Regions from separate parts of the Homo sapiens genome. Here regions 1, 2 and 4 are each linked to region 3. The links are contacts of gene promoters, found by promoter capture Hi-C in blood cells and fetal thymus (Javierre and others, 2016). All regions are on one chromosome and are shown on one strand. Each heading gives the region's core, a stretch centred on a gene start or on the middle of the fragment in contact. The rest is flanking DNA. Distances are from core to core; before and after follow the strand shown.

The links. The method cuts DNA at HindIII sites, captures the fragments that hold promoters and counts their contacts. A CHiCAGO score of 5 or more calls a contact.
Region 1: a contact is called between a fragment that was not itself captured here and the fragment with the promoter of GPR151 in region 3, in 1 of 17 cell types (total CD4 T cells). The highest score is 5.2, in total CD4 T cells.
Region 2: a contact is called between a fragment that was not itself captured here and the fragment with the promoter of GPR151 in region 3, in 1 of 17 cell types (total CD8 T cells). The highest score is 5.1, in total CD8 T cells.
Region 4: a fragment that was not itself captured here is called in contact with the fragment with the promoter of GPR151 in region 3 in 1 of 17 cell types (M2 macrophages); the score reaches 5.6 in M2 macrophages.

The regions. Positions count from the first base shown.
Region 1 is chr5:147,156,994-147,160,697 of GRCh38, forward strand. No RefSeq gene overlaps it. Among named protein-coding and RNA genes, the nearest start is that of STK32A-AS1, 76 kb to the right of the region's middle. The HindIII fragment of the contact is 452 bases long and covers 1,772-2,223 here.
Region 2 is chr5:147,209,785-147,213,307 of GRCh38, forward strand. All of the region lies in intron 1 of STK32A-AS1 (STK32A antisense RNA 1), which reads right to left. Among named protein-coding and RNA genes, the nearest start is that of STK32A-AS1, 23 kb to the right of the region's middle. The HindIII fragment of the contact is 6,668 bases long and covers 1-3,523 here.
Region 3 is chr5:146,514,017-146,517,520 of GRCh38, forward strand. GPR151 (G protein-coupled receptor 151) reads right to left here and starts at 2,174. Exons shown (of 1, transcript NM_194251.3): 1 at 1-2,174. The coding sequence starts at 2,097. The coding sequence ends at 838. The HindIII fragment of the contact is 3,538 bases long and covers 1-2,685 here.
Region 4 is chr5:147,175,154-147,178,575 of GRCh38, forward strand. STK32A-AS1 (STK32A antisense RNA 1) reads right to left here. Exons shown (of 4, transcript NR_147190.1): 4 at 1,882-2,336. Among named protein-coding and RNA genes, the nearest start is that of STK32A-AS1, 58 kb to the right of the region's middle. The HindIII fragment of the contact is 1,090 bases long and covers 1,432-2,521 here.

The DNA.
Region 1 (3,704 bases), core at 748-3,247, 640 kb after region 3:
CACAAGGGCCAAGATGCCCAGCCCAAAGCTGAATGAATCCTTCTTAGAATCACAGGGTTGTGAGGAGCACTTGAGGTCCTCCTTCTCTGCATCACCATCAGAGCCTCTCCACTGAATGGGAAGGCTGCAGTATTTGGAGGAAGCCCAGCTGTTTGAGGGAATAGCAATAGCTAACCCTTCACAGCTTAGAAACATTGTCTTATTTGGACAGAAGTCTTGTGAGAAAGGGAAGTGGGTGGCTTATCCAATGTAGGATGAAGAAACTGAAACTCAGACAAGGTATCCACTTGATCAAAGTTAATTCATTGGTAAGTAGAACAGCCAGGAATTGAGCCTGAGAATTTAAACTCCAAGATCCCAGCATTCCATAGTAAGAAACTGTGGATCCCCATCTGTTCCCACACTATGCTCAAAGATCCTGTGTCCCGAGCAGAACAGTAATTCGTAATAACCAGCATTCATTGCTCCTAGCATTACCAGATACTGTAACTCAGGCACTGTTCTCAGCACATTACATGTTAACACATTTCATCACAGCAATGCTGTGAGGCAGGCACTACTTTTATTCCCAATTCAGAGATGAATGAAGCACATAGATTTTGAAGTAGCTTGCCAGAGTTTACCCAGCTACCAAGGGAGGCTGTAGGTAATCAGGGAATCATTAAGTCCCTTTCTCCCACTCATGAGAGAGTGTCTGGGAGGTTGGGGTTTAGGAAGAGCCCCTCCATCTTTAGCTCACCAAAATGTGCCTAGGGAATCCAAAGAGGTCTGACTATGTTTGAGGATGGAAATTGGCCAGCGTCTGTCATCTCAGGTTTGCAGCTGCCAACACCAAAGGGATATATTCCCTTTCCTTTGTGGAGTCATGCATCATGACCTCCTTCTCTATTTCCAGCAGCTGCACCCTTTCATTTTGCCAAAAGTTTTCTCACTGATTAAGGCAGGTCTGAGAGAAGAGTTGGCCTGGGATTTCCAGGAGCCTCTTCTGTCACTGGCTCCTCTGAGTGAGGATTAGATAGCAAAGGTAGGGCAAGGAGAAGGTAGGGCCATTAGAAAACCCATTTGGTTTTCAAACACCTACCATGTGACAAACACTGAAATTAGCCCATTCACTCATTCAAAATGAGTTTACTGGGCACCTATTATGTGCCAACCTGGCTGTTCAATATTAATTAATTTTAAAATACCATTGGTCATCTATAAATATGAAGCCTGATAATAGGCATTATGCGTGAGTGATGATGGTTATGATAAAATTAATATTTATTAAAAACTTACCAGTGTTCTAAGGATATGCCATTTAATGATTTAATCATCATGACTGTAAGATTACTACTATTACTGTTTCTATTTTATAGACCATAAAACATATGGCTAGAAGTTTAATAAATTAGCCAATATCACACAAGGGGTAATTTGTAGAGCCTGGATATAAAAATGACTAGAACTCAGTCCCAGCCTTAGGGGAGGCTCAGTCATTGTAACCTATTCACCCCTCACAACAACCCAGTGAGATAAGCAGTACCATTACTTGCATCATGGATTATGCCTGTTTGATTTTTACAATTTCAATTTTAAGTTCTTAGTGGGAGAACCACACATGAAATACCCATTTTTCATAGAACATGACCTCTAATGGCAAAGCAATTTTTCAGCAGATATTCGATGAAATAAGGACCTTTTCCAATGCTTAGGTTTACATAAAATCATACCCAATATACTTTAAATGTGATTCAATTTCATTTAACTAATGAGAAACTGAGGCTTAGGAAGCTTAAGTGACCTTCTGAGGCCCCATTGCTAGTAAGTGGCAAACCCAGTTTGTGCTCTTCTACCAAAGCACACTTGCAAATAGACCTGTGGAAAACTTAGTTTGTAAGGTGTCTGGAATGCTAATTGATTATATCTTTCTGGGGAAGACAACTCTTTATTCTCAACAGGCTCGATATGAGTTTTAGAGATTTCTGATCAACTCTGAGAAACTGTCAAAGCCAAACCCTGGTTTTGGTTTTCTGTGCAAACATTGACAAAAGATGTATGTATTTGCTGGGCGATAGACATTTAGGATCTAGCCCAGGTGCTGGTTTGGATGCCTGAAGTAGAACACTCTAAGCATAATGGAGAAATCCTGCATTTGTACAATAGCATCCTTGCAAAGTATGAGGAAATTAATGTGTTCTTACAAATATGTTCTAAAACGGCAAATTATTGAGGAAGTTGGGAAGCTTCAGAGATGTTCTCAAGAGAGCTGTCATTGCAGGAAATACTCATAACCCACTCTTTGGTGCCTTAACTGAAGACAAAATTTTTGCATGGATAAACTTTTCTCCTGGGGCATGACTGGCATTCTGAGCACAGACATGCATGTGTGAACTTGAGATACTGGACAAATCTTTTTAGCTCTCTGGTCCCCAGTTTCCCTGTTTATTAAATGGGAAAATATAGAAAGAAATCTTTCTGTAACATTTTCTGGGATCATGGACTCAGGAAACTTTGCAAATCTAAAAAAATTTCAGAATCTTCTCTCCCAAAATGTGTAAATTTTTGTTTCATAAGTACACAGGCCCCTGAAGCCCAGTAACGTTTCCCCTAGATGTCTATGAATCCCAAGTGTAGTCTATTTCTAAATTCAGTTTTAGGGGAAATATGTATTATTTCTAACAATCAAAGTTTTGGATTTCTTGTATGCCTGGGCAGCCATCCATTCCTGCTCCTCCACTACCAAGTGACTTAGCAGCTTATGTCAAAGTTCTAAGGGAAGTCTTTCAGATTAATAGATGTGTGCCCAAGACTAACAAAGAGATCAGCTCCTTCAGAACTTCCCTTCAATATTTAACTTTGTGAAAAAATAATCCTTTTAGTGGGAAGAGCTGCTCTACCAGGCTCGAAGAGGGTATAAGATTACCAGCCTAATAACTTTCAGGAGTAATATGCTCCTTGATGTCAACTATTTGTTGCTGGGAGAACATAAATAACTATTTTGATGCTCTTCATTAAAGAAGCAGTTATCTGGGCTTTTTATTCAGTCAACTAATATGGCTTGAGTAATCATTATATGCAAGTATTTGGGAAATACAAAGATGATTCATTAAATGACCTTTTCTTTAAACATATTACAAATGTTTTACTGGCCTTACTAATTCCAAAATATGTTTTTGCAAGTATTATTTTGCCCTTGTTTTTCACATTGCCCTATTTCCATGTATATTTCATGTATGTAGAGATATGTGTGCATGTACATATTCATGTGTTTGTGAGTTCATATTCCTTGCAAATTTATCTGCAGGAATTTGGGGAGGGTTTGACTTGAGGTTGCATTCCTTTAGAGAAAAACTGCGTTTCCTCTCTGGGTATATTACCTGTATAGTACTATAGTATAGTACTGATTTAGGAGATCTCTTTTATCAAATTCTTCTTTGGAGATGTTTTATACATTACAAGAAATATAAATTTGGCCACAAACCCACATAAGGACTAACTTGGAGTTATGAAAATCTCAAGAAAATGTTTATATATTCTTTTTTTCCCCTTCATTCAGTACTGTTTCATCCAAACACTGAGTTGATTTCTCATTTCCCCTTAGTTTGAAGATACAGCCCTTTGGGGATCCCAGGAGTTGGGATTTCCTATTTGATTCCCAACCTTTTAAGGGTTGTAGACTTTATCATCTGTTCATTGTGCAAGCTTAAAAATGGAAGTTCAAT
Region 2 (3,523 bases), core at 905-3,404, 700 kb after region 3:
AGCCTAGAATCATACTCTGTATGGAGATATGCTCCTGACTGAGAGAACAGGAAATTCTATCAAGGTTCTCACACTCACTTAGAGGCATGTATTCATTGCATGAAATGGCAATCGGAAGAGTCTGCAATATTTTAATTGCTCATTCATTTGTTCTCTTTTTCATTTCCAAGCTGCCATTCACACAATCTTGATTTCTGTTTCTCAGATCCTTCCTATCCACCAATCTGTTCCTTAGCAGAGCACAAAAATGTGAATTTGCAAACATTAAATACTCCCTTGGTATGGTTCCATTGTAGCATACTAAGCAGACATCTTCAATCAATCACAACATGACTTTCATCCCATGAGACTCAGATTGGACTTCATAGTCCTATCCCAACACAATCCTCCAGGCAACCACTACCAGCTGACCAGGACAGATGCTCTGACATGCCATATGACATTTTTTAAACCACTTAGGTCCTTTATTTTTGAGCTTCAGTCACCTTTATGGCTAAAAAAAAAAAAAAAAAAAAAATACATTAGATGAGATACTCTCCAGACCTTTTTCTGAAATTCTGTGATTTTATTATCTTTTATAGCAGAGATCAACAAACCAAGGCCTGCTGATCAAATCTATGCTGCCATCAGTTTTTGTATAGCCTTGGAGCTAAAAATGAATTTTACATTTTTAAAACATTGGAAAAATCCAAAGAATACTATTTCATGACATAGAAATATAAAGTTAAAATTTGAGTGTCCATAAATAATACTTTATTGGAAAACAGTCATGCTCATTTACTTTCATTTTCTCTATGGCTATTTTCCCACTATAATGGCAGAGTTAAGTAGTTGTATCAGACACCATATGTCCCGGAAACCTAAAATATTTACTAATTGATTCTTTACAGAAAAAGTTGAAACCAGAGTATGGTGAGAAAATTGTGGATTGAATGCCAGGTCAAAAGAAATGTTGTTTAACACAGAGGTTTAAGGATTATGAGGCAAAAGCAAGTGAAATAACATGAATATTTGTCAAAAAGTCATCCAATGGTACCCTTCTAAAATGTGAATTTCATTATAACATTTTTATTATTTTGTTATAAAATGTTTTATAAGAAAGAAGTTCCAAACATAAAAATAAAAAGGAACCAGGCCTTTACGGGGGACCATAAAGATAATCTGACATAAATGTTACAGGTTTCATGTTAGAGCTACTGTGAAATGTAAATTCAACATGAAATTTGTCAGTATTTCATAACCCAGTTAAGATGTAAATTCAACAAATACTCTGCTTGGGAAAGATGCATTGTGTTCTATTTTTCAAATTGTTCAGTTTACTGATTAAAGTATTTTTACATTTACAAAAACAACTAACGTAACTTCCATACTCTTCTATTTCATAAGCTGAAATAAGTCCCTGCTTCCCTCACAGGGATGGTAGAAAGAATCTTTAGGAAAAATGCTCTAAGTCAAAGTATAATTTTTGATATTTATGTTTAATATTAGGATAATAATTCTTTTTTAAATAGCTTAATCATATGCTTACTCATGCTTTTACAAGTCTTTGATTCAACAAATAATGCAAACTTAATCACTGTGCTTCTGATTAAGTCTGATATATGCAAAATGGAAATTGCTTATTTAATATCAACTGTCAATATGAGTTCACATTTAACTAGGTTGGAACCTATTTACATTCTAAAACCTTTTCAAACCTTTTCTTGTGTTCGAAAGTTTTGGAGCTGTTAATAACTCCATATATATAAAGAAACATAGTTATCATTAGTTGATACATAATTTGCAATTTCTCTAACTCTCATTAATATTTGGGTAACTTTCAGTTCCTATTACTGGAAAAAAACAACTAAGCGAGAAGAAAACAACAATTGAGCAGGAGAATAAACATATTAAGTGTTTAGAAAGAAGAAAATATTAAAATCACATAATTAATTAAGATAAACAATGTCTTCTGCAGAAAAGTTCATCTAACTTTCTATGGTTGGAAGAAAGATGGCTTTCAATAATGATAGAAGTTGGAAATAGACCACATTTACAGAATGCCTAAAACACAAATAAAAATAGGAAAATCGAGTTAATAATTCAGACATTTTTCAAACTCCTAATTAGTTGCATATGGATAGCTTGGATGGTGAAAGTCACATAAAAACGTCTATTATAGAATCTAGATTACCAATGTGTTGCATAATTTAAATAAGGCCACAAGTGGTAAACTTGCTTGAGTTAATTAGATCTACTCTAATATACAATAGAGCATCCAAAACAATTCAAAAATAGAGAAATTTCTGGAATAATTCTAATATAACATACCCTAATGGTGTCAGATTAACCCAGGTTTCAGTATGGTCCTCAATACCATCTCCTACGTTTCTTAATCGTACAATTTAACCTTGGTGAACTCTACATTCTGCATTAGTATATGGGATAAATTATTTACTTCATAGGTTTCTGTGCGGATTAAATTCACATAGTAGACAAGCAATAAATATTTGTAATAGTCCCATAATTTTGTAGTTTTGTTTAGAGACTGCAAAAGAATGTCAATGCATATTAATTATGAAAAAAGTAAGATCTGCATACTTTTTATACTTAAAAATAAGTTATAAATTTTCTAATATACTGGATGTAAATAGACACATATTGTAGTTCATATTATTTAAAATCGTAGTTTCATATGTACACTCTGTTAAATGCTGTGCCTTCATTGACATGTTCTTTCTTGTTGCCTGGACTATCCAGATCCATGGAAATTTTATAACTGTCATTGTGTTTTTATTTTAGCGATAAAGACGCATCTTTGTTTAACAAGAACTGGAAGTAAAACTTTGTCCCAAAAAGCAGGTACTTTCAAAGTTGGGGAAAAATACAGCAATAAGTAAAGCACTTGTTTCATATCTGTTGAAGAAATGATCCGATTATTGTGTATGGGAAGAAAGTCAGGAATTGAAAGCAAAATGCCAGACATCTAAGTGTATGTTCACCTGAAATCTTTAGGACCATAAGCAGTACTCATATTCCAATAAACTAGAAATGTTAGCTGTTTGAACCATAGAAGTAACCATTTGCACGGGAAAAACAGGGACTCTGATTTAGGGGCACCACAGTTCAAATGCCAGTTTAGATTTGTTAACTTCAATAAATTACAATTTACCTGAGTCTCAGTTTTATTACCTTTAAAGTATGGACAATAATAGCTACCTGGAATTACAGCTGTTTCAGGATTCAGTTAGTACATGTAAAGTGTTTTTTAAAGAAATGAATTTATTATTACTACACAACCATTCCCTTTCATCAGTGGAGAAAGTTTCAAATGGATTACAAATGCTATATTCTTGTCACTAAGCATTCCTCAACTATCAGTGCAACGGCAAATTTAACAAAACAAACCAGCCAACTGTTTTCAAGTATAAGGAAAGGAAAGGGGAAACCATCCCAACAACTTGAGCATAACATGTCCAGGTAGGAAAATGCAGGTCCCTTCAAAATAATCTCCCCTATGTTCCAGATATTCAACAGTTGATCT
Region 3 (3,504 bases), core at 924-3,423:
TCTGCTTATAGAAAAATAACTTTCCCACATTTTGGAAGTGAAGAGAGGACATTTTTTTAAGTATTTTTTCCCCCATATCAGACTACTGAATGTCATTGGAAAGCTGCTACAATTCTTAGACTTAGAAACTGAAGACTCATTCAGGTAGCTTTAAAAAGTTCACTGAAGCAGGCTTTAGTTTAAGTTTGAATTTATTTAAACTTGGCCAGAACCAGCCATGGCTTGAAATGAGTCCAGAATTGGAATAAGGTGCTGTTTCTTTTTCTTTGACCTTCAGTCATGAACATTATGATACGGACTTTTCATCAAGTAAATTAACACTTATTAAGTAAATGAAGAACGCATTAAAATTTATCATTAATGTGTTAAAAATCTCAAGTGAAAGTAGATTTTGAGCTTTGGTTATGTGAAATACAATTTAGTAGGTAAAATTAGGACTAGCAGGTCCTGGGTGAAACTGAAGGTAAAGGGGCTCAGCTTTGACAGAACCTCTACTGCAGGCTCCAGCCGGTCCACTACAGGGCTGGTCCTAGGGGGTACCCAGTAAAACCACTGTGAACAAATGACAGAATAGCCAGGCTGTCTAATCACTTTGACAGCAACATCTTTACACAACACTTAAATTGTTTGGGAAGCCAAGTTCTAATTCTGAAACAATTATTACTTCTAACATGGTTCTCTACTTACCACATTGCACATTTGGAAAGTGTAGATTGTGAAATATTTTTATAATTCCTAATGGTAATAATTATATCAGTTTGTAAAGTCAGCAATATTGATAAGCAGCAGTACAAGTAAATACAATAATCACAGTTTGTTTTGCTTTGAAACTTAAATCTATTTAACACCTTCCCCTGTCTCTTGATCTTCATGTTCCCAGGGGATAGGGTCATTGTCCTGTACAGAAGGGACTGTGTCCCTCTCATGCCAAAACTGCTCTACGTCAGGAAGGATGGGAATCTCTGCCTTCTCAGTTTTCCCTTTGCCAGAGGAGGGAGAGCTGGGTTTCTCTTTTTCTGGTATGGATGCTGGGGATTCTGGAGATGGAACCTTGTCAGGAAGACCCTCTGAGTTGCCAGCTGGTGTTTCCTGAGACTCTGAGACAGTTGGAGGTTTTTTGGTTATCATCCATTTCCATACACCTTTCAAGCCTTCCCTGAACTCTTCCGACATCACAAGAAAAATGAGAGGATTTGCTGAAGAGATGGAAAACATCAAGACTTGAGACAGGGCTATGAAACCTTGTGGTGGGGCCGGGCCTGCAGCCTTCAGATGCCATACCCACAGCCAAGCTACCCATTCGGGGAGCCACAAGAGAGCAGAGATGATGGCAATGCTCAGCAGCATCACTGTGACTTGCTTTGAGCGTATCTGGTTTCTAAGATTTTGAGTCTTAGTTCCTCGTTTTTTACATTGGTCATAAGCTCTCCAGAAATAAAAGCTGGCAAAAAATAATGGAAGGCCAAATGCCAGGAGTGGGTAGAGCTTACCAAACATCGACATAAACTCTTCAGCCACAGCTGGTACATCCACGAGGCACATTTCCACACCTTCATGATGCCTGATGGTGCTAAAGAACCATTCCGGCAGGGGTAACAGGCTAGCCACAGTCCAGATGGCCACCAGCACTGACCAGATGGTGTAGTTGTGGATACTCACTTGCTTGGCTGGGTCACTTGCATACATGAAGCATACTTTGGCCACCACAACGATTGTCAGGCTCTTGGCTGCCATGCATGTGTGGATAAACCAGTCAGAGGACTTGCAGACAAACCAGCCTAGATCCCAAACACTTTTGGAGTACGCCGTAGCTCGGATAGGTGCAGAAAACAGCAGGAGGGAGAGATCAGCCAGGCTGAGATTCAGAATCAGGGAGTGGATCATGGATGGCTTTCCTTTCCAAGCATTGTGAAGGAGGATGCCAATCACACACAGGTTTCCCACGAAGCCCACCAGGCAGACAGCCACCAAGAGAGCCGGGATGATGGTTCTCCAGTCCTGGGAATCAGAGGGCAGGTACCCTCCGGCAAAGTGGAGGTGAGCAAAGGACACATTCATGCTGCTGGAGTTAGAGTCTGCAAAGGCAGCTGCCAGCATCACTCTTCACAGCTTCTTACAGAAGTTAGATTCTTATTTAGGTTTGTCTTTCTGCCTGGGCTCTTTTGCATAGGAAATAAGTACTCTGTCGTCAGTGTCAAATGACACTTCTGGATCCTCCCCTTGCTTATTTCCTGAGAGCAGAATGTGGAAGGAGGCTGGCTGTTAAGCTCTTCTCTGCTGCATACAATATACTTGTGACTGTACCGACTGTCAGATAGCAGGAGCACATGGCTGCTGCTCATTAGCAAGTCTAATACCAAATCGTCAGCCCTGTGGAGTAATACAAATATACCCATAAATGATGAATGAAGAGAACATACATGTAAGTGGCATGTGTTCCTTGGGGGGTCACTAGAGCCAGTCAAGGCAATTATTTTCAACCAGCTCTTCCTAAAATCTTGACTGCTGTCTGTAATTTAGTGAACACTACATCTGAACCAAGTTCTTTGAACTTCACCTGATGGCCGGATCCAGTGGGTCTGGAGTAGGGCCCAAGAAATCATTTCTAACAAGTTCCCATGAGACTCTGATGCTGCAGGTTGGGAGACCACACTTTGAGAACCACTGTTTTAAACTGAGAACTAAAGCTTCCCCTACCCACTCTGCAGAGATGAGCTTCCTCTTCTTTTCCCCAACCCTTACAACCACCTCAGTTCCATCAACAGCTGGCTGAGTTCAAACACAGCTGGATAATGAAAACAAGTTAGAAGTCCTATTAAAAAAATCTAATTATGGATGACTCTCAGTTTATTCTATTACGAGTTTTTAGAAGCAATTTTACAGCTCCAAATTAGAACTGCTTTACATACTAATAAGACTTTTCAACAAGTGATGGTGATGAAGGCAACTGCATGATGAATTAAGCTGCTTTTCAGAGAGCATTCCTAGAGGATTTACCAAGACAAGAGAAATGAAAGAAAAATCAATATCTATGTGGAAGGCATTTAAGAGATTTTTTTAAATTATATTTTAAAGTTGGTAAAGATTTTGTGCTGGGCACACTGGCTCATGCCTGTAATCCCAGAATTTGGGGAGGTGGAGGCGGGAGGATTGCTTAAGGCCAGAAGTTCGAGACCAGCCTGGGCAACAAAGTGAGACCCCTGCCCCCACCTCTACCAAACAAACAAGAAAAAAAAAAAAAAGAAAAAAAAAAAAGTCAGCCATGATGGTGTACACCTGTAGTCCTAGCTACTTAAGAGACTGAGGTGAGAGGGTTGCTTAAGCCCAGGAGTTCGAGGTTGCAGTGAGCTATGACTGTGCTGCTGCACTCCAACCTGAGTGACAGAGTGATCCTCTGTCTCTAGAAATAAAAAAATTCTCAGATAAGATGATTTGGTAGAACTAGCCCTGAAATTTTAAAATAAGCAATGGATACTCTGGGGGGATTAGAGGAGCTCAAAATGT
Region 4 (3,422 bases), core at 727-3,226, 660 kb after region 3:
GTGCAGATTCCATGTGACAAGCAACAGGCTAAGCACATTCATGCCATTATTTAACACAACAATCTTATGGTGCAATTTGTTACTGCTCCCATTTCACAGTTGAGATCATTGTGGCTCAAAGATGGTAAAAGACATAAAATATATTACTAGAAAGGAGCAGATATTTAAGTGTATATAAAATATGTTAAAGTATTTTAACAATGGTGAAGAATGAGACCAAGAAATTTTAACTGGATATATGATAAGCAGCATTCGCCACTCAGCTTGCCACTTCGCCTTCTCTGGTCCTCTTTTTCATAAAGTTGATAACCTTCTCTTCATACTTGCCTTGATTTAAACCAAGTTTTCCTGTTAACTTTTCTTCCTAATGAGCACTTTGCCACCCTTACTACTTGCCTTTCTCTTCCACTGTGCAAAAACTCCCAGACTTTGTTGTTTGTATTGAAAAGCCACACCCTTTTGATCTTTAGAACCAATCCATAGTCCATCTTGGGAAATAGATTTCACCTCCCTTCATGTTTCTGCATCTGTAATCAGCTTCTGAAGTCAGAATGCAGAAAGGCTGGAACAAAATCGTCTGTACTTTTCACAAATGCTGATAAGTCAGCCAAGAAAACCTGAATAGTACAAATGCCCTGCTGCAGAGGTTTTGTTTGGTAGCAAGTCAGACACAGCAAGGAGACCAAAAGAAAGCATTAATAATTTTGCCTTCCTCCTGATGTGCTGAACAACAAGCAGCCCCATGTGCTATGATTTCTTGGGAATGCAGTGCACATGGCGGCCTCAACACAGTGAGTGGCCTGATACAATTCAAAGAATGAAAGTCTTGGAGCCTAAAGACCTGATTGGTTCTGCTCTTACTAGGTACACAACCTTGGGCAGGTTGTTTAACTTCTGAGTCATCAGACATAAACTGGAGCTAATATTCTCTTTAGTGATACATAGTCCAGCTTGTATATAAGCCATCCATCTAAAAGTCATCCTTGCTTCTTCTCTCTTCCTTATCCCAACACCACCCAACCTGTCTGAATTGTGTTGATTCCATGATTTAAATATTTCTCAAATTGCATATCCAATCCCACCAGCTATATTAGTTGGCATCATAATGTCCTAAACTAACACTATATACTCCTAGTCCATTTCCCTGTTCCTAACACCAAAATATCCCTTCTCAGTGCATTCAGGTGTCTTGCTAAAGTGTACATCTCATCATCCTGCTCCTGATTAAAATATAGTTCTCATTCTTTACAGAATAAAGTAAAACTTTACCATCACAGGGCACAAAGCCCTCCATGACCTGATCTTACCTGTCTGTATTAGGAATCTTTCAGATGCAAGTGACACCTCTGAAATAGCTTAATCAAAAAGGAGTACGTATTAACTTACGAAACTAAAACAGCCTGCCGAAGTTCCAGGCAAAACTGGGTCCAAAGCTTAGTCTCATCAGGAAGCTGTCTCTCACCCTCCTTTGCTTGGCTTTCCTCCAGAGTAACTTTATTCCTTATTAGGTTCTTCCTGCTTCATAATAAATTGGCCCCCAGCAGTTTCAGGCCTACCTAGCATCTATTTAGCAATCCCTCTTTACTCCAGCCTGCCCCGAGAGTGACTTTTTCTCACTAATTTTAACAAAAGTCACAAGGCAGAATCTCAGTGGTCTGTCCTGGATTATTTGCTCAACTCTTTACAAACACCGTACCGTAGTGGGGATATGATGGTTAGGCAGGCACATCCAGGAGGCACCTGAACTACATGACTTAAGATCAGGGTTACCCCCGACCCACCCACACACATAAATCAGACTGCTATCACCAAAATAAGAGAAAATGAATGGTAGCCTAGGAAAATGACACCTACCCAAAGGAACTTCTCCCCTACTCGAGGTTCCAGAGTTTAGTGGCTCAAAACAACCATTTTATTTTGTGCATGGCTTTTTGGAGATCAAGAATTTAGAAAGGGTTCAGCTGTGCAGTTCTTGGTTGGAGGCTCTTCTGTGGTTGCAGTGAGACAGATGTCAGTTGGGGCTGGCGACTCGTGGAGGCTCCATGGAGCTGAGTGTCCAAGATGGCTTCCTCATGAGAACAATTGTTGCAGCCAGGATGGAGCTCAGCTGGGCTGGGAACTGAATGCCTACACGTGGCTTCCCCAGCATGAGAAGCTCAGGGTGCATGGACTTCTTAGTCAATAGCTCTGAGGTCCAAGCACTGCATTTCAGCGCAAAGGGGGAAGCTGCATCACCTTTTCTGGACCTAGCCTCAGAAGCCATGCAGTGTCACTTTTCTGCATTCTGTTGATCACAGGGATTCTCAGAGTCAAGGACGGGGACACAGACTGCACCTCTGAACAAGAGAAATGTCAAGTAATTTGCAGCCACAATCATTTTCTATTGTTCTTCGAATATGTTCCCATCACTTCAACATTTTTTTTTTTTTGCCTTTAGGAATGTGCTTCTCTGTCTGGAATGTCCTTTTTTTCTTCTATCTCCCAAGCATTACTCACCCTATGAGACACACACCCCCTGCAAAGCTTCCCTCTCCCCACCACATAGTAGCATTGGTCCCTTTCTCTGCAACACCACATTCCAAAAGTACCTTTATAATTATAAAACTTTGTGCCTCTGTCTCTATCAGCAGGCTATGAACTCCTTGAAGGCAAAAACCAAGTCTTACCTCCCTGCTTCACACATTAACCGTCTCTTATAGGCTAATTGTGTCATGTTTGCCTCATGGCAGATTTAGATTATACAGCCAAAGAGTTTCCAAATGTTGAAGTGTTATTCAAACAAAGGTCGTCATTATCCATAAGTAAGCCTTTTACTGAAAGAATGTAATAACTTCTCGTGATAGCTTTGCACCTGACAAATTCTAAATGGATACTCCATTTAACTGTTTAAAAAAAAGTTTAAGATTTTTTTTTTTACTTTCTTTCTCTGGCTTAAATAAGAGTGACGTCTAGTTGTTTGTTCTTTATCTGTTATTTAGATCACTGTTCCCCAGGTTTTATCAACCAGTCGCCTCTCCACAAGCCTATTGTATCAGGTCAATCCTTCTCTACTTTCTTCATAGTTTTGTACCTAACTCTTTGTAACACCTGATTTTCGTGGATCTAATTCTCCTATACACCTGTGTGTGTGTATCCCACATGCACATATGTTTTCTAAATGCCAATAAATAAGTAGTAATACATTTGAAACATTGTTATATGAAACACATACAAGAAATTTGAACAGAAAAAGCACAAATGAAATGTGTTCAATCTCACCAGTAGTCTTAAAAGTGATCATGAATACTGCAACCAAAAACATTTCACACTTGTATGATAGGCAGAAATATTTAAAAGACTTAGAATTTGAAGAAATAAGATATTTTACATGTTGATGGTATGAAATGATACAATTCTTCGGGGAAGAATTGATACATTTCTTT